Regions from separate parts of the Homo sapiens genome. Here region 1 is linked to region 2. Evidence: promoter capture Hi-C in 16 types of primary human blood cells and fetal thymus (Javierre and others, 2016). All regions are on one chromosome and are shown on one strand. Each heading gives the region's core, a stretch centred on a gene start or on the middle of the fragment in contact. The rest is flanking DNA. Distances are from core to core; before and after follow the strand shown. Region 1 holds the start of ADAMTS6 (ADAM metallopeptidase with thrombospondin type 1 motif 6). Region 2 holds the start of CETN3 (centrin 3).

Region 1 (5,909 bases), core at 2,531-5,030, about 25 Mb before region 2:
AACAAACAAAAAAGGAATTTAACTAAAATCAACACAACTAACAAATCTAACTGCTCTTAGTCACCTACACAATAAAAGTGAATGAGTTAACCCACTTTCTGACACCTGGTGGGGAGGTTAATCTGGACACCATAAATATGTAGAGGCTGTGACTTTTCAGATATAGTTTCCAAAGTTCAGACTAACATTGAAATACCAAACAGTTGTCCAAAAATCACAATGCATTGACCTTTTAAATTGTATAGCAGAAACATCATTATGTTGTGGAAAGCACAAAGGCTTTGAGTCCTGGCCTGACCCCCAGTTACTTAACCTCTCTGCATCTGCTTTCTAATCTATAAAACCATGATATTGATGTCTATCTCACAAAGACTTGTTAAGAGATTAGATTACATATGACGTAAAGTGTCTCTGTACTTTAAGCTAAATAATATTAGCCCTCCTTCCTTCATTATCTAACATCACTTTTCAAAGCCCTTCCTTCAAAAATAGTTTCATGTTCCTCTTTCCCTCAAAAATGTGAAATAATAGATATGATGATGGAGTCAATCAACTAGTTATATTGTCTTTTACAGCAAGGAGTTAAGAACTTTGGTCATGATAATGATACTTATAACTACTTTAAATTTGAAAACAGAACCAAAACGTCCATTTCACTTTGATTTCACATATGCTTTTCTCCCTAACACAAATGCACCAGGCAGTAAAGTTAAGGGATCATTTACCTGCTTCCATGGATCAAAGCTACACTACCTAAGAAGAAAAATGATGAGACAACTTGCACTATAGTGATTTCCTCAGTAGTCTGCCCTGATTGGAGGGTATTACTTGTCTTTTTTCCTCTATCATCTTTACTTCCCACTCAAGTGATCGGGGAGTAGCCAAGGTAATAATTTCCTCTTGTGAACTATTATTATGAAGCTAAAGAATGTGTATAATGTTCTTCTCAACTTCTTTCATCCATCTTAACTCTGGTTATTTATTTAAGGCTGATTTGGTCTCCATGGAAGAAACAACAATACCATGCTCCTTTCAGGTGTTTAATTTTTACATATGAAAATTAACTTCTTTCATTTCCATTTATTCTCTCACATTTATTATCACCTACTGTATGCTAAGGACACAATTAGGCTCTAAGTATAAAGGTTTCTAGATCATTTATAAAATTTGTGAGATTGGTTTCCAAGGAAAGGTGAAACTAAACACATAAATTACCCAAAACATATCTATCAAGCAAATGAGCTAAAAGCAAAAATACAAACCATGATTTATAAAACTCAAGCCCTAAATTACATGTAGTCTCACACTTTTTTCCAGATAGCAAGTAAATACACATTTTCTGTATTATAAATTTTTTCTCTTGAGCTTAGCTTGATAATCAACCATGTTTTTTGGCAGAAGCAAGAGAGCTATCCACCTCTTCCCCTCTTTTTCTCCCCACTACCCCCAACACATATTCCAAATATGCTGTTAACTATCTCTTAATATGGTAACTCCCTTCATTCACTCACTAAAGTCACAAACTTGATAAAATTTGGCATAAAGACCCATCCTAGTTACTACTACTAGTGATTACTAAGGAAAGAAAGAGGAAGTGCTAAGAGTAGACAAGAGTAGGAATTAATCTTACAGGTATTGGGACCAGACATAAGGAGTATTACAGTATTTTCAGTCTTCAGGCTAGAAGTTTTTCTTCTTGGGAATCACAAAAATATTAAGACCACTACACAGACTTCATTTGCAGCTGTGGCAAATGAATGAATTTGATTTGTTTGAAATCAACGTATTTGCCTCTAAATGCTATTCTTCAAAAATTCAAAACACTAACGATCACATTTAAGCACAGAATTAACATAAACCAGACTGCAGTTACCACTTTGCTGCAACACAAGAAAACAATTATCTCCAAAATTAATTTTCTTAATTTCTTTCAACTACACCAATTTTGTGTTACGTTTCTTTTCCTGTCATGAATTCTGAAAACTGTCATCCCCACATCTAAACATTTCAGTCTAATCAACAGAAACTAAAAAGAAAGAAAAAAGAACAGAAAATTAGTCCACGACACTTGAACATAAAAAGAACATGTTGAAAATCACACTCAAGTGTCTCTTTTAAAGTTCCAAGCAATGGTTCAGTTTCCCTTTTTCTCTCTGCTCTGCACACCCTCACCTCCCCCCGCCCCCACCATTCCACTTCGCCCAGACAGAGGGTAACAGTCTGAGCTGCCCTGGTTGAGTTGATCCTAAAGTTAACATTCAGCAGCCCATTTCCAGACAGCAGCGCTAAATCTATTTGGATAAAACGCGTGTGACCCAGACAGTTGGCATCTGGCCCAAACGCGTTGCACCGGCAGCTCAAATAAAAACAAGAGTAAGAAACTCACTCTCTTGTTCCCTCTCAGTGCGCTTTCTCAATCTCTCGCTCACTTTTCCTCTAGTACAGGGAAAGAAAGCATCAAAGACAGGAATTGTAGCACATATTATCAGAAAGAGGCTTCCCAATACCCCATTCCTGCACTCTCACTCTCCCTCCTCAATCCCTGAACTTTGGTCCCATACACCATATATACAGACCTACCCCGATAAACAAGGCTCCGGAGGGTTATGAGTCTAGCACGTCCCAAGTGGCCAAAAGTAAATCAAAAACACACGTTTCCATCTCTTTGATTAGCCTATTAAGAGCTTAACATGTCCTAGAGCATCGGGGCTACAGCTAGCACATTAATGCTACCCTCTGAGCCCAGGCATAAAATATGCACTTGTCTGAAGACTTAACGACACTGACATGAAACTACAAAATGCATAAGACTTTTCTGTAAGAAAACTGGAAATCAATTTAAAACACACACATCATTATTACCTTCCGGATTACTATTTGGTGATCAGTTAAAAGATTACAATAATCATAATCAAGTCCACTTCACAAAACATGTATTGTATATTCATAAAATAAACGTATTTTTTTTGCATCATAAAATAACTGCAAGTCCCAGAATTCTACAACCCCCGACAAGTCTGGAGTTAAAAAGATATCTATTTGTAAAATGAGTTCAGTCAAGCTCACTCATTGCCATTAAAAAAAAAAAAAAAAACACACACACAGAAAAAAAGTTTTCTAAGCGTTATTCGGAAGACAAGCAAAGCACAAGTTGTTGGTTTAAAAAAAAAAAGCTCCATTGAATATTGTTAAGTCTTCCTTACCGTTTTCATCTTCAAATTCTGATAAAAAGTAAGTTTCAGACAATAGAGATTGCACTGGACGACTCACGTACTCCCTCTCCTCTCTAACTTTTTTTAATTTTTTTTATTTTTTTATTTTTTGCCCCCCTTTGCAAAGCCACACCAGCCAGTTATTCTGCAGCCAGAATAAAACCCTATGGTCTGGCTAACCCGGGCTTTAGAGAACTGACTTTCCGATTTGGCAGAATAAGAGATGCCTTCAATACATCTAGGCTATCACTCTGAGATGCTGCCTTTGCAAACCCCCTTTCTCTCCCTCCCCACCCCCCAAAAAAGGAAAGGAAAAGAAAGAAAAGACGGGAAAAAAGACTTATTGGGGGTGGAAGTGGTGCCCTCTCTTCCTGGAAAGCTTAGTGCCTTTGCTATGCAAATAACATGTGCAGAGCATCAAAAGGTATCAGGAGAAAAGAAGACAAGAGGAGCAGGAAGGGCAGCAAAGTTTTGTTGAAGTAGCCCTAGATCTCACTACCGGCCCCCAGCCAACTTGAATTGCAGCAGGAGAAAATTTTGGCAGCTTTTCCTCGGAGGCAGAGCACACTGACGTCAGTCTGCAGATGTGCCTGGGCTGCGTCGGGTGCGCATGTGTCCTGGGTCGTCACGTGGAGGGGGAGGGGAGGTAGAGGTACAATCGGGGTAACCAACTACCAGCCATTCAGAAGGGCTTAGACAATGTCAACTTTTCCACACTGTGAATGAGAGAAATTCTGGCCTCTCTAACCTCTCTGTCCTATCTCATTCCGCCTCTTTTCCTCCTCCTCCTCTAAACTCTCTTAGAAATTCTAGCCTGGTTTGCTATTAGTTGTTTCTTGGAAAAATGAAGGGGGAGGGAGAAGGATGAATGACTTTAGATGGACTAATGTCACTGTTAAGATCTCTGGTGTCATTCTCCGTGTAATTTTATTTTTAAAATCCACACAATCAAAATGTTAAAACTTGCACGCAAACAGTGCCTCTGAGGAAACTTAAAGCTTAGATTCGTGCAGCAGGCACAAGACTCAGTAGCTACAAGTGTACAAAATGCCTGTGTTTTATACATACTTCAGCAAGTAAGGTTAGCACCAAAAGGGAAAGTAAACTAAAGTAAACTAATACCAGCACATTTTCCATTTGATTATCGACTTCAGGTTATGTGGAGCTTTAAAAGAAGAAGAAGAAGAAAAAAAAAAAGTAGGGGAGGAGGGAGCGGGGGAAGGAAGAGAGAAGCTTGCATTATTTCCAGATGAGGGTGAGACTGGATGGTGTTTTAAAGTGCAACCGGGAAAAGCCACAAGTGGAGTGTATTTTTTTAAGTCAGTCCATTGAATGAAACTTCAATGACTGCCCAAATGAAAATAAATCCGAAGTAGGACCCCACCACCAAAAAAAAAAAGGAAGGGAAAAAAACAGGAACCCTGCTGCGATCTCAAGATAAACAAACAAAACCTCAAAACTGGTTCTTCAACCTTCCCAATCCCACCCTCCCTCCCCCCTACACACAAGCTGCCAGTCCAGACTTTAAGGATAAAATACCGCTACAATGTAGCACTTTCACTTTCATTTGCTGAGAATGAAAGCCGCTGGGGAGAAAATGCCCAGTGTTTTCCATGTCCTAAGCAAGCAAACAAAGTCTGGCACATACATCGGAAACAGGAAAAAATGTGAAAATAGCTCAGGACAAATGTTGCCTTTCAACGGTGTAATCTGCTGCATCATTTATCTGTCTCTACCATTGAGTGTAGAATAGGGAGCTGTTTAAGAGTTTCCGAGGTTGGGGGCAGGGGAAAATTGACGCCTTGAAATTCCAGCCCTTAGTTAATGCCAAGTCAATTTCCGATGGTGAGAACCAGAAAGGAGAACTGGACCGGAGGGAAGGGGGTAGGAAGGATGATCTTTCTGAATACCAGCTCTTAAATATCAAGCTTCTGCTAACATTATTGCCCATTTGATTTTTTTTTTTCTTCCTACGCCGGAGGTAGTAGGTGTAATTCTTCTGGTGAATCTATGAATAGTTGGCTAAAAGGAGGCATGAATCAGACTGAGAACGTCCAAGAATACAGTTATTTCAATTCTTCTTCAAGGGTTGAAAGTGGAAAGCATCTGTCCACAGAGTAAATAGTCCTCATCCTGACCTTAATCAGTAGTATCTGGCTAAAAGCCATTTAAAATGTAGAAATCTGTTCAATAGTGGGCATTGAGTTTTAAATAAAGATGATTCATATGTATGTATGTATGTGTGCGTATTTGTATGTGTATATATATGTGTGTACATATATGTGAAATACATGAGGTAGCAAAATATAGCAATAATTGTAAACACCAAAAATAAGAAAAGTAGGCATCAAATGACTATTTAAATAGTGTTGAACCTTAACCTTCCTTAATTTTTCAAGTACTGGCAGTAAATAGGGACAGCCAGCACACACACAAAAAATAAAGGTATGAGCAGTAAACATCTATATAAGCTCTGAAAAGATTTTACCCTCAACTAAGATAAACTGCCCTACAAAGTAGCAGCTTGTAGAGGAGCTTACTTAGTGGGAGTGGACTTTGGCTAATTACTTATTCAAAGAGTGCCATCCTGTGTCTAAACAGAGTAATGAAATTTTTCCAACAGATTCTGTCTCCAAGTTGATTGGGTCAAGAATACTGTGAATAATTGGTGAAAATTGATTAGGGTGGGAAATGGCG
Region 2 (6,163 bases), core at 2,230-4,729:
TAATAATAAGGAAGGAGACATATTACTGACTAGAGAAGTCTTATTTGGAAAGATTCAAACTGTTCCTTGAAGGATAGATGAAGAGGAGCAGTAGGGTATTTGGGAAGGATGACTGGTATTAAAAGAAACACTGAAACGAATAGGTTCGAAGGACAATGAACAGAGCAGTTTACCTCACCTGAATTAGAAAAGTTCAGGTGAGGTAAACTGCTCACCTGAATTAGGAGGTGAATTCCACCTTAATTAGAAGAGTTCAGGAGGAAGAAAGCAGTTAGCAAATGAAAAAAGTAGTTGGTGGCAAAAGTGTAGAGAACATTCAGTAGAAAGCAAAGGAATCTGAACTTTAAGTAGTATACAATGAGGAGTTATGGTTTATGAGCAATGAACAATTTATGAGCAATGGTGAAAGAATTTTTAAACTATCTAAATTCAGTGGTAGTGTACAAGGTGAACTAGTAAGAAATCATTTAGGAAGCTCCAGGTATGAAATAAGGTCCCAAACCAAGATAGTCAATGGTTACAAATGGAACAGACATTATAAAGGAAGATCAAATCTGGGTAACCAAAAAAAAAAAAAAACAAAAAAAACAGTGGGAAAAGAGAGCCAAAGAGGACTGCAAGATTGAGAAAGCTAGACTTAGCAGGCCTATTAACTGCTTTTATACATTCTATCCTGTCACTGCATAGTTCCTATCCCTACTTGGAATTCTAATGCTTAAAAATCCCTTACGAAATTACAAAAATTAAAACTACCAAATAAACACTTACATTCACCTATCCATTAAGGCCATTAAAAATCTCAAAATACTATCTTTCCCACTGTGCTGAAAGTAAGTCCCATTCTACCCTAAACCCAAATCTCTCCTTATACCCTGACAAATAATAATTTACAAATCTCTCCCTACACTTTGACATTCTAGGTCTTAAAGCTGACATTTTTACCTATTAGCATGTGTCAACATCAAACAGCACTAAAGTTGTTTGCACCAGAGAAAGTGGATTGAGACTATGTTACTAACAAATCCAAATTATAAGATTAAAAGACAACACTCCCACAGTCTGAAAACAGTATGAGTCACCAAGAAACAAAAACAAAAACAAAAAACAGTGAAAAGAAGATGGTAAGAATAAATTCCAGTTTGAAATCCTTTAATTATGACAGTGAAAAATAAGCACCTTCCCTGGGAATGTATTTTTACATTTAAAATACTATTCGTTTTCTCATGTGAAAAAGATTTTCTAAAAACTATGTTAGGAGTTCTCTTCAGTTTTATTACAGCATCTAACTATGAATGCTTAAAATGCCTTCATAGTTCCAAAACCAATTTAGTTAAAATAATTATTTAGAAATGTAATGTAAAGCAACTGTAAAAATGCAAATCATTTTAACACAGAAACAAATATTTTAAAGTATACCATTACCTTTAATTCATGATAATCTATTGCTTCATCTTTGTCTGTATCAAATAGTTCAAAAGCATCTTTAATTTCTTGTTTCTGTTCCTCAGACAGTTCTCTTCTTTTTTTCCTCTTTGTTTTGTCCACTACAAGCTCACTTCTATGAAATGGAAAGAAAAAGCCCTTAGTCCACTTTAATTCTCTTTACTAACAGAAATTAGCCAATAATTACCTTCTAAATTTCAAAAAAGAAAGTACTTTGGAGAAAGATAGGGAAACTTTCCCTTTATGAGTCAATGACCTGTTTATTCCATAGTCTAAATTGCTATAAATCTGAACTTCGCAAAACTAAAGAGTGTTACAGATTATTAAAAGAAATGAGGACCAAACTTTTCTTTTTCCCAGCTTTTTATTTATTCCCACTAATGTTACTGTGGAAGAAACAAGAACTGTGAATAAGCAACACTACTTTTATGTCTGAAACTCCAACCAACTCCAACCAAAAAAACAAAAACACGTTATCCTACAAGAATGTTAAAGAATTTAAAAAAAATCTCCAAATGAAACCAAAATTCATAACTGACAATCACTATATATCGGTTTACTGTTGATAGTTCTGATAATTATGTTCATAAAATTACAAAAAAAAAGTGAATTAACTTATACAGTATTTTAGCACTGTTGGTTCAAAATGTTTTTAGATTACACGTTTTTAACAGTTTGGCAATTTATGTGTCATTTCCTCCATTGATATTAACAAACCATCGAAAATATTAATGAGTCTAAACATATGACAAATATTAGATGCCAATATACAATGTTTGTGCTTCATTCTATATAAAAATGTGATGAGTCTTGTCTCATTTAACATGTAAACCGGAGGTTAACTTCTCATAAACTCTGGAAACGCTTAAAGAAAAAAAGCAAAAATTATTTTAAAGCCAGAAATGTTTTCCTTAAGAGCTGCCCATCTAAATGTGCTCCAAATTTTCAAATGGAGCCGCAACACTGGAATAACGAGTTTTGAAACACAATCCGGTAACACATTAACATGTCAAACCAGTTGACTGTACTTAAAACACCTATCTAGTTGCATTTGAAAGTCGTTTTGGTCTCTGAAAGCTCCAAAAAAAAAAAAAAAAAGCTAGGAAGTGACTAGTAGGTGCAGTATAACAAAGCTGAGGAAGATCTTCCTTTCATGAGACCTGACTTGACACAAACTTGGGTATTCCTGGGGTCAGTCTTTTCCTTCCTGAGACTTTTGGAGGCCAAGTCCAGAACCGACCCACCCCTGACCCCATCCAAGGGTACCATGATTATCCCTTAGCAGAACATGGAATATTTTCGGAGTGTCGTAAGTGTATGGATAGTTTTACGGTACAACGTCTACATAGTGGGAGAGGGCAACAGAGGGTTAGAGGTTAGAACTGAAAGGTAAAAAAATGCAAGAAATTTAGGAAATCCAAGAGACAGACTGCCAATTAAAGTCACTAAAATGGGTCTCCAATTACACCGTAAAGCAGGGCCCTGGGAGAAGAGGAAAGAGTTTTTGTTATTTCCAAAATTTATAGGTGGGTGATTGCATTAGCAGCGGAGCAGCCGAGGTGGGGCCCTGACCAGGCACACGGATGAATGAAGGGATGTCCGCGACCTGATCTGAGAAACAAGAGTAGAAGCCTCGCGATATTTCATTCCCACCTCGCTCGCAACTAAGCCCAACCTTCTGGCAGTCCAAAGCCCTACGCGCTGACAGAAATAACCTCCTTAGCAGAAATGCACTGGTCTCGTTCCCTGCAGGGCATCAGAGCCCAGAGGGTGAGTGATCCGGGCAGGCTGCCCTAGGCTCCTTTCCCGCGTCCCAAACTACATCCCCTGCCTCGCCTCGGCCCCAAACGTCCTCCCTTCCACACACACCCTCCCTGGGCCCCGCTCCGGGGTGTGGAGAGCACTGCCGCCTCCTTATTACCGACCTCAGAGCTAAACTCATTATCTCTTCGCACAGAGACGTTCCTCTCAAGAACGATTTTAACCCCCTACCCAAGGCAGCAAGACGCCCACAGCCGTTCAACAGACACGAACGACCTCAGCGGCCTCAGGGACCTCCCACAACATAGACACTTTTGAGCTGGATTGGTTGAAATGTCGCTATGGTTCTGCCTATTAGGGGGCGGAAGCTTTACCAGTTCTATTTTCATTGGGTAGGTTTTACGTCAATCAAGGAAAAAAAAATTTTTTTTCTGTGCCCCGCCCACCTCCTAACGCCCCCCCGCCCCCCCAATCTAGGGCCGCTCTCGCCCTTCGGATTGGCTCGATGCGTTTTTCCCCGAATCCTTTGCGGGTCCGGCCTCCGATCCCTGTGTGGCTGTTTGGCGGGTGGGCGCTGTGTTCCTCTCTCGTAAAGCCGTGCGGTCTGTGGGCCGCCATTCAGAAACTGGATGGACAGCTTCGGCGGTGGGAAGGGAAGGGACATGCTGCAGGCCACCCTCCGGCTAGAAGGAGGGAGTACTTGAGGAACAAGGTCTGCGAAAATTGGCTGTGCTCTGTTCTAAAACTTGGAATGGCCTCAGTACCTGGGGAATGTGTTTAAAATGCAGACTTAAATGTCCGTTTCTCCATTCTAATTTCAGTAGGTATGAATCTGCGTTTTTACTCCTCACAAGCCTTCCAAGTGATTCTGAGGCAGGTGCTGTGGCTGTACTTGGATTATCACAGGGTTAGATTATCAGGCTATTTATGATTTAGCTGTATCTAAACCACCTTTCCCTCTCTTTCCTCCTTTGAACTGTTTGAAACGGATTTGTTCCCTTCTGTCTCTTATTTTTCAGTGCTGTAAGCTGTTAACACACATGAGACTGTCTTCACTACCAAACCAAGTCTCCTAAAGCTCACTTGAATGTCTGCTTATTCGTGTCTCTTACTAGGTTCAATTTCTTGGAGGCCGTGATTATATCTATTTAACGCTTTTCCTTGTACCTAATAAAATGTCTGGTGCGTAGGTGCTCGGTAAATTGAGTGGAATCTTTTGAAAATCCACAAAATACTGAGCTAAACAGCAAATCTCATAAACGTGAATAAAATAGCCTGAGGATGGGAGTTGAAGGCGGAGAATATATAAACATTATATGTTTAAGGGATGTATATAAAATTTTAGAGAAGGGAGAGAACACAAGATATGCTTCTTAAAGGAGGTGACATAAACGTTAGACCTAGAAGGATGGGCTAAATTTGCACAAGGAAAGATAGTATGATAGAATAAGCTAAAAATTAGCTAAGGGATAGCACCCCTAAAAAACAAAAGTGGAACTTTTATTTTGTTCGTATTTTAAATTTTAAAGTACCTTTATAAATCACCTTTGAGTCTAAAAGGAAAGAGAAATTGTAGTTACTAGAACATAATGATATTGAAAAAAACTATATGTTAAAATTTTAAGATACAGACCAAGTTATAGGAGAACATTATTTTAAATAAGAAAGAATAAAAATAGGCCAAGCATTTATTTGAAGATGTTAGAAACGAAGAACAAATTGTATAATTGAAATTAGGAAGAGGAAATTAGTAAAGATAAAGTTTGAGAACAGTGTTTTAAAAGGAAATTGGTAAAATTGATAAAGTACTCATAATCTAGTATAAAGCTGGTTTTTGGCAATACCAGTGAAATTCAAAGACTTATAGGAAGTGTAACAAGAAAAGGAATAGTGCCACTAGTAAGGTTGGTAATTTAATAAAAGGGAGGTTTAAAAATTATTAAAATATTTTATACAATTTTATACCGCCAATAAATATTAATAGAAAATGAAATAGTCACTTTTCAAGGAAAACATAACTCAAAAAAGGTGGAAAACTGAATTAAGTCAATAACTACAGACAGGACTGGAACAAAGATGCCAAAGTTCTGTACTCACAAATAAAAAGCCTCCAGCCCACTCAGATTTATGATTAAAAATCATAAGAGCTAAATCTTGTGCTTTAAACTCAAGTCATAGAAAATGATGGAGAGCTTCTTAGCTTAATTTTTGAAGCTGCCATAATCTTTCACATCCTAAAAGAACATTTAAAGTCACTCAGTGTAAGCTCAGTGATGATGAAGGCTATGCATGTTTCTCACCATTGTATCCCCAGTGCCTGACTCATGTTTGATGTTCATTTGTGAACTTAAGTGCAAAATTCCTAGATGTTAGCAAAGTCAGTTTGATACTGTCTTAAAGGAACATTTCTCTATAACTAAATTGAGTTTTTTTTTGTTAAGTGCAAAGATAATTCAAAATATAAATCTGTGTTAAATAATTATAATGTTAGGTTAAGGAAATCATCTCAGTGTCAAAAAGGCACTGAATAATAGGTAACACCTTTTCTATTAGGATATAAAGTGGGTTTAGAAAATACTTTTTTAAATATGATCGGCAGAATACTTAAACACCAGTGTTTCTCAAACCTCATTCCTGAAACACTAGGATTTTGTGAGATGCTTTTGGTCTCAGAGTGCGTTTTATAAGCAAATAATTTGGGCAAACAGATTTTAAAAGGTTTTCAATAGGGTGTCCTTTTAAGAGAGTGACAGGGAATTTACACGCATCACTTTTATTATATTTAATTAGTGAGAACTAGTGACAACCACTTCTTGCTTCACGGGAGGTTGAGGCAAGAAATCTCTAGATGGAAAACTGCTCTGCTGAAACTTGGGGTCTAATCATCTATTACTAAAGATAAGACAGGTGGTTACACTAATTATATTTTAAACCTAAATTTGATGCAATCAAAATTCTC

What was found. The method cuts DNA at HindIII sites, captures the fragments that hold promoters and counts their contacts. A CHiCAGO score of 5 or more calls a contact.
Region 1: a contact is called between the fragment with the promoter of ADAMTS6 here and the fragment with the promoter of CETN3 in region 2, in 1 of 17 cell types (total CD8 T cells). The highest score is 5.3, in total CD8 T cells.

Annotation. Positions count from the first base shown.
Region 1 is chr5:65,478,140-65,484,048 of GRCh38, forward strand. It overlaps ADAMTS6 (ADAM metallopeptidase with thrombospondin type 1 motif 6), which reads right to left and starts at 3,781. Exons shown (of 25, transcript NM_197941.4): 1 at 3,204-3,781. RefSeq lists enhancers at 3,534-3,893, 3,661-4,160, 3,934-3,983. The HindIII fragment of the contact is 619 bases long and covers 3,590-4,208 here.
Region 2 is chr5:90,406,277-90,412,439 of GRCh38, forward strand. CETN3 (centrin 3) reads right to left here and starts at 3,480. Exons shown (of 5, transcript NM_004365.4): 1 at 3,369-3,480; 2 at 1,423-1,558. The coding sequence starts at 3,385. It overlaps LOC731157 (a long non-coding RNA gene), which reads left to right and starts at 3,724. Exons shown (of 2, transcript NR_105024.1): 1 at 3,724-4,028; 2 at 4,224-4,393. RefSeq lists an enhancer at 3,250-3,449. The HindIII fragment of the contact is 6,726 bases long and covers 1-3,570 here.